Regions from separate parts of the Homo sapiens genome. Here region 1 is linked to region 2. The links are contacts of gene promoters, found by promoter capture Hi-C in blood cells and fetal thymus (Javierre and others, 2016). All regions are on one chromosome and are shown on one strand. Each heading gives the region's core, a stretch centred on a gene start or on the middle of the fragment in contact. The rest is flanking DNA. Distances are from core to core; before and after follow the strand shown.

What was found. Contacts are between HindIII fragments. The CHiCAGO score rates a contact against its expected background, and 5 or more counts as called.
Region 1: a fragment that was not itself captured here is called in contact with the fragment with the promoter of ERGIC2 in region 2 in 1 of 17 cell types (total B cells); the score reaches 8.2 in total B cells.

Annotation. Positions count from the first base shown.
Region 1 is chr12:21,433,138-21,436,333 of GRCh38, forward strand. No RefSeq gene overlaps it. Among named protein-coding and RNA genes, the nearest start is that of PYROXD1, 2.9 kb to the right of the region's middle. The HindIII fragment of the contact is 1,540 bases long and covers 798-2,337 here.
Region 2 is chr12:29,379,773-29,382,811 of GRCh38, forward strand. It overlaps ERGIC2 (ERGIC and golgi 2), which reads right to left and starts at 1,400. Exons shown (of 14, transcript NM_016570.3): 1 at 1,343-1,400. RefSeq lists an enhancer at 963-1,132. The HindIII fragment of the contact is 7,270 bases long and covers 1-3,039 here.

The sequences.
Region 1 (3,196 bases), core at 318-2,817, 7.9 Mb before region 2:
CATCCATGTCAGTGTAAAGGGCATAATTTGATTCCTTTTTATGGCTGCATAGTATTCCATGGTGTATATGTACCACATTGTCTTTATCCAGTCTATCATTGATGGGCATTTGGGTTGATCCCATGTCTTTGCTATTGTCCACCACCTTTTTAACTCTAAAAAATCAACAATAAAATAAATCAAACTCTGGTTTGTATAATCTGCCATTTTCCATGGTGTAAATACTCCTATTACGGCCAATTTCAAGATCAACATGACGTCGCTGAATGAGGCAGTAGGAAGAAATGTATAGTAGCCCACCATTATATTTTTACCTGTAGATACAATAGATGTAAATAACCTCAAGAGTAGAGATAATAGCAAAAGAGTTAGGAAATAAGAAGTTTTGAATATTTATTACCTTTGTCTTAATATAACTTATTTGATTATGTTTATACAATTTAGTGTTTAACAATAGCTGTGTTAACAATCAGCTCACACAAATCCTAAAATTTTAACAATCAGCTCTCACAGATTCACAGTTGTACCACACCACTGATTCATAGATATAGGAAGACAGCCTGCGGTATGGCAAGAATGACACCACGGCCATGATGACTGATGTTGGATTCCTGCATACTAAGGTGTTCTGCAGCAAGGTCCTTAAACAATGCCCATAGCATAGATAACCCTTCAAAAGAAACAAAGCTTGTAACTTAGATAATTCTCTCATTAAGATTCTTATCTAGACTCCCCAGTGTTCATGAGTTTTGCAAGAAAGTCTGAGACATGATCAGCTGTACATCTTTTATCCTAAAAGCTTACATAATTTCTGGAGGGCAGGTGTGGGGATGCACTGTAACAGAATCATCATTTCTGTGTGTAAGTCCCTATTAAATACCTCTTTCTGAGAAACTGGATTTGTCAGTTTTTCTTTGGCCTCTCAGCTCTCTCAGCCTTTGGGGGTAGGTTTGCATATATATGCTCATACAGGAACAACAGTGAGGCTCTTTCCTCTCCTTACTCCTTACCCACCCTCCAATCTTAAAGCCCCTGAAAACATCAGCTCTTAGTTAGGAGAAGAGCTGGAGCAAAAAAGCAACAAGAAATCAATTTGCGTTGCCTGTAGTTAGGTGAGGCTTTAATTGGATGCGTGTCTGGAGTTTTGATAATAGGTAGTACCAGACTTTTTATTACCTGAGAATGATCAGATAAGCTAAATTAATAAGAATTTAGAGGAGAAAAATACATTCACAGGAAAAGCGTTGAGAAATAAAAATGTTTGCTTTAATTTCTTCCCTATAAAGTCCAGCTTGTTCAGTAAATCAGTTATATGAACTAACAAAACAAAGAAGAGGTTTCGAGTGCAAGATGAATCCAGGCTGTACTTACAGCGAATTGGCAAAAACCAAGATAAAAATGAGAAGATATCCAAGATGTTTCAGAAATTTCAGGCTTGAAGATTCAGAGTAGATTGCATGAGAGATAGACATTTGGGAGTTAAAAGCATAATAGGCTTGTTAAGGTTATGATCATAGATAAAATCCTTTAGACAGAGAAACATAGTCTATTCAACAGGGCACAGGCAGGCAACTTAACCATTAATCCTACTAAGAGGCACGCACTATGCTAGGAAGTTTAAATATGTTGCCTCACACATGCATCAAAACAACTCTACAAAGTAGATCTTATACCCGTCTTGCCAATGAGGAAACTAGGGTTCAGATGAGGTAAATAACTCACTGAATGGTCACACAACAAAGAAATGCTGGTGCCACATTTGAACCTAGGTCATCTGACTCAAAAGCTATTAATCACCAACTATGAAATGTCATTATTCATTCCCAATTTTTGCAGTTGAAAATTAACCTCAATACTCCTATTCTAGGCATTTCTGATATCAACTTGAAGAAGAATGGAAGACTAGATTTTGATGGTAGTTTGAAAGTTGGGGATGGCCTTCAAGAGATTAGGTGGGTATGGGAATCAGATGTAACAACATTATGGAGAGAAATAGAAGAAGATAGCTTTATCTCCTTCAGTTTTTCCACATGAATCTTGAACTCCCCAACCACTTTTCTTTCTTTCTTCCCTTTTACCATCTCCTGTATTTCCCATGCTCATTCCTGCTGCTAAGCCTTTGGTTCTTGGGATATTTCCCACATGACTTGCCACATCTTCTTCTGAACCTATCCAAATGCTATGGGCCTTTGAGATTCAATATAAATTCCACTTCTTCTCTGAACCTTTCTTTGCCAAGTCCTGCTTTTCTTTTCCACCCATAAACATACACCATAATATTTAGCAATACACTGGTATTTCTTTGACTCCTCAGAAACAGTCACCAGGTCACTCCTAAGCTTGCTGACCAGAGCTAAAGGGGAGCTGAAGTTCTGTCTTTTCTGCTTCTCTGCTGCTTCCTGGCATTGGGCCTCCCTTATTTCTAGGTGCCCAGTTTTCTTTGCAGTTGCCCTTTCTCCTAACCTGTACCTATTGCTGCCCTCCCTGTGGATAACATGTTTCAAGTTACCTACATCTTACTTTTAACCCACTTTACATCCAGTATATGTATCTAATTTAATCAACATTAAGGTGAGATGCACTGAAAGTTCTTTAACCCTTAGACATTTCTAAAAGTTGGATATTCATGCCAGTGTGGCAGGCAGCTAGGTCTTATCCCTACATCACCTTTGACAAAAAAGCCAGCCTTCACAAGGGGAAGAAAAAAGGAGAGTGTGGAGTCATTACCCCTTTACATTTGAGGAGCCTCCTACTACTTTGCTTCCCCTCCCACAGACGATGATCTCCTTCCGTTTCCCCTGGGAGCTTAAATTCCACTCCATTCTTCCTTCCGACTTCCATAAAGAGGAAACCCCTGTCACAATATACAAGAGGATCCTGACCCTGGACAATGAATCTAAAAATCTTTAGAAGGACTTCAGGGGAGTTTCATGCTCCACCAACTTCCTATTTCGTTGAGCACATTTTTGTTGAATACATACTCCCTACTAAACATTGGAGATACAAAGGGAGACAAAAATAATCCCTGAGATTATGTAAGCAGTTTATGGTGGTGGTGGGGTCAGGCAGTAAGAATTTACAATAAAGTGGGATAAGTCTAAATTTAGAGGATGACAAAGTGCTATAAGAACACACGGAGAGGACACCTAGCTGTCTTGAGGATGTTAGATAAAGTATCTTAAAGGGGAAGCAATGG
Region 2 (3,039 bases), core at 150-2,649:
AATTACAATAAATATTGGGAAACTATTAAATAGGATTTTTAGCAGGCACTGACTGCCTAAAAGTAACTTCTGGTAAAGAAAAAAAAAATAGCCATTTCTTTCACTTAAATCATCAATCCCCAAAGAAAGAAAATGTGTGGGTGGTTGTTGTTGTTTCCCTAACTCTCGTTGTTCCAGACTAGGCCTGATTTCCTTTGAGAGATCTTTCAAACTTGATATATTTTTATGATTTGTACCAGGAAGCCATTATAACACGCAACTGTATACTAAAGTTCACCATCATTTAAAAAAAAAAAAAAAATCCTCCTCTCTCTATCCATCCCTGCACCGCCAACCCCCACCCTCCCAAAAAATCAGAATTTTTTTCCTCATGTTTTCCACTAGAACTGGCATAATTACAACAACTTAAAGATATCAACAAACAAATTAGGTAAATAACCATGTCTTTTTTCAGTGAACAAGCCAGGCTCATTCTTTATAATTGCTGTATACTGGAGTCCAATGTATCAGGCTAGGCAATTAACTGAAATACTGAATTACAACTTCAAATGAATAAATCCTGTTTTTAACTGTAACTTTCATTGCTTCTGAAAACCAGTCTGGCAACATTTTAACAGCTATTATGCCACTTTGTCTTTAAGTCTCGGGGGCACTAAAATATAAAAGTTATTTAAACGTGTTTTCTCAAACAATGACCTGTCAACTCTATATACTACAGATAAACAAGGCTATTCTCCACCACGAGTTGACACGTTGCCTTCGGAAGGTTTCCTGCGCCGAGGAAAAGTAGTGACAGTCGAACCTGTCTCTCAGCATCTCGCCCTCCCCCGCCCCCTTCTCATTTTCCGAAGCACTGTGCGAAACTCCTTCCGGGCAAGGCCAAGACTCTTAAAGAGACAGAGGGCAACGTGCTGCCACGAATGTGGCATTTGTCTGAATGGGGGTAGGGAGTCTGACATCCGGGAGGACTGGGACTCGACCGATTGGGATCCTACTCGCCTGCGGACTGGAGAAACCACCTGGGAACCGGGCACTGTGACAAGCAAAGGGTCAGAATCAGGTGCGATCGAGGAAGCACCTGAACTCCTTCGAGTTGCAGGATAGCACACAAGCACCCGGACCTGGCAAAGGGAAGCTCCCAGTAGCATCGTTGCCTAGGGTCCTGCCAGTAACGCCCCCGTGGGAGGTGGAGCGGCTTCTCCGTCCGACCGGCTCTCTAGAGATCAATGAAGACAGGAAGCCAAGCCCATGACAGGCTCCCAGTTCCCTCAATTGCATTTACGCCCTAAACAGCCCTGGAACAACCGAGGGAACAGCACCCAGCGGTGTTTCAGTATTTTACCTTGTGTTATGGTCCCAGCCTACCGCCATGTTTCACAGAAGCCCGGGTCGCCGGGGCTCCCGCGTACCCGGAAATATCGCGAGAACAAAAGCGACTATCACAGCTGAAAACGTCAGAAAAGAGACAATGTACAGATCTCGCGATATTCCCTTTGCTTACGACGTGCTTAGGGAATGAAGAGGCGTGGTTAAGATAAAAGAGGCGTGCCTACAGGGAAATGAGGTTGCAACTTGTTTTAGGTGTAATCGCGCCGCCAGTCCGGTTCTGTTTCTATGGGAAGGGAGGGGTTACTTTCCGACTAACACTGAGACTGCAGAACGAATCTCAGCTCCTCACACCGTATTTCATTACTAATAAGAGCCTTGGGCGCAGAAATTATCCCTAACAACCCTAATGCATATCACCTGTGCAATTGTTTTGTTTCCCTCTTTCAGTTTTTGTGTCGTTTTCCCCTGACAAGAACATTTGAGCTTCCTTTTCCGCCATAGGTAACGCTTTTTATTATTTGATCAGCGTTTTTATTGTCTTCCAGGTTTTAATATCATAAGAAAGCACATATGTCTTCCTCATCTCCCTTCGCCAACACCAACTATGCCTTCAAATATTTGTTAAGAAAGAAAATTAATACCTCATCTTTTTCTACCACTTCATAGAACAGGAGTTAATAGACGGAACTTCGGAAAGAAAAGTTAAATGTGAACTCCTGGAGAGTAAACCCATTCCAGGTTCCTTTTCACCCATCTGTTACCAGATTTTATAATCAAACATTGAGATTTAAATTTTCTGATTCATTGACCTAGAAGTCTAACAACGGCATAATTATGACAACTGCTTATAATTACTGTTTAAAGGCTTTAACTGCTTTTTTAAAAAATCTGCGTATCCTCACAACACTCTTAGAAGATAATACCAGTATTTACCTGTTTTATAAATACGGAATTTGAGTCAAGGGGTAGTGAAGTGATTTACCCAAATTCAGACCGCTGGGAGAGTCAGGGAAATCTTGATCACAATACTAAACTGTGCCTCAAAGGAAAAAAATCACATTGTTTTATGTAGTGAATTAACCTTTACTGAAATACTAAATTTCACTAAATTGAATATCCCCCAAAATAAGGACTGATGAAAAGTTTCCAATGAATCAATTTTATTTTCAGACTTTCAGAGTTAGTCTAATTAAATCAATTTAAAGTTCTCACTTTCTTGACATGCTTAAGAAGTATAGTGTAGTGGGTGAAATCATAGACACTGGAGACAGGACTTCCTGGGTTAGAATTCCAGATCAGCAACTTACTAGCATGTAACCTTGACCACATTATTTCATCTCTTTGTGTCTCCATTTGCTCATCTGTAAAATGGGCATGATAATATCTCAGAGTTGTTACGAGGATTAAGTAAATTAATATACATCTAAAATGCCTTTTTTTAATCTTTGCCGTAAAGGCATCAGCAACTCTTCCTTCTTTGTGAATATGGGCTCTTGCTTGGATGGAGGCTGGCTGTTGTTCACTTAGTTACATCTGATCCCTCATCTCCTGGATAACCTACTTTCAGGGTAACAACTATCCCATGAGAGTTGGATTTCCCAGTGTAGCAAAACTGACTAATTTGATCCTTCTTATTTAGAAAACAACTCACCATTTTCTAATCTACCCAGTGAAGAGGGAACTTAATTTCCCCTGAAGATTGAAACTCTC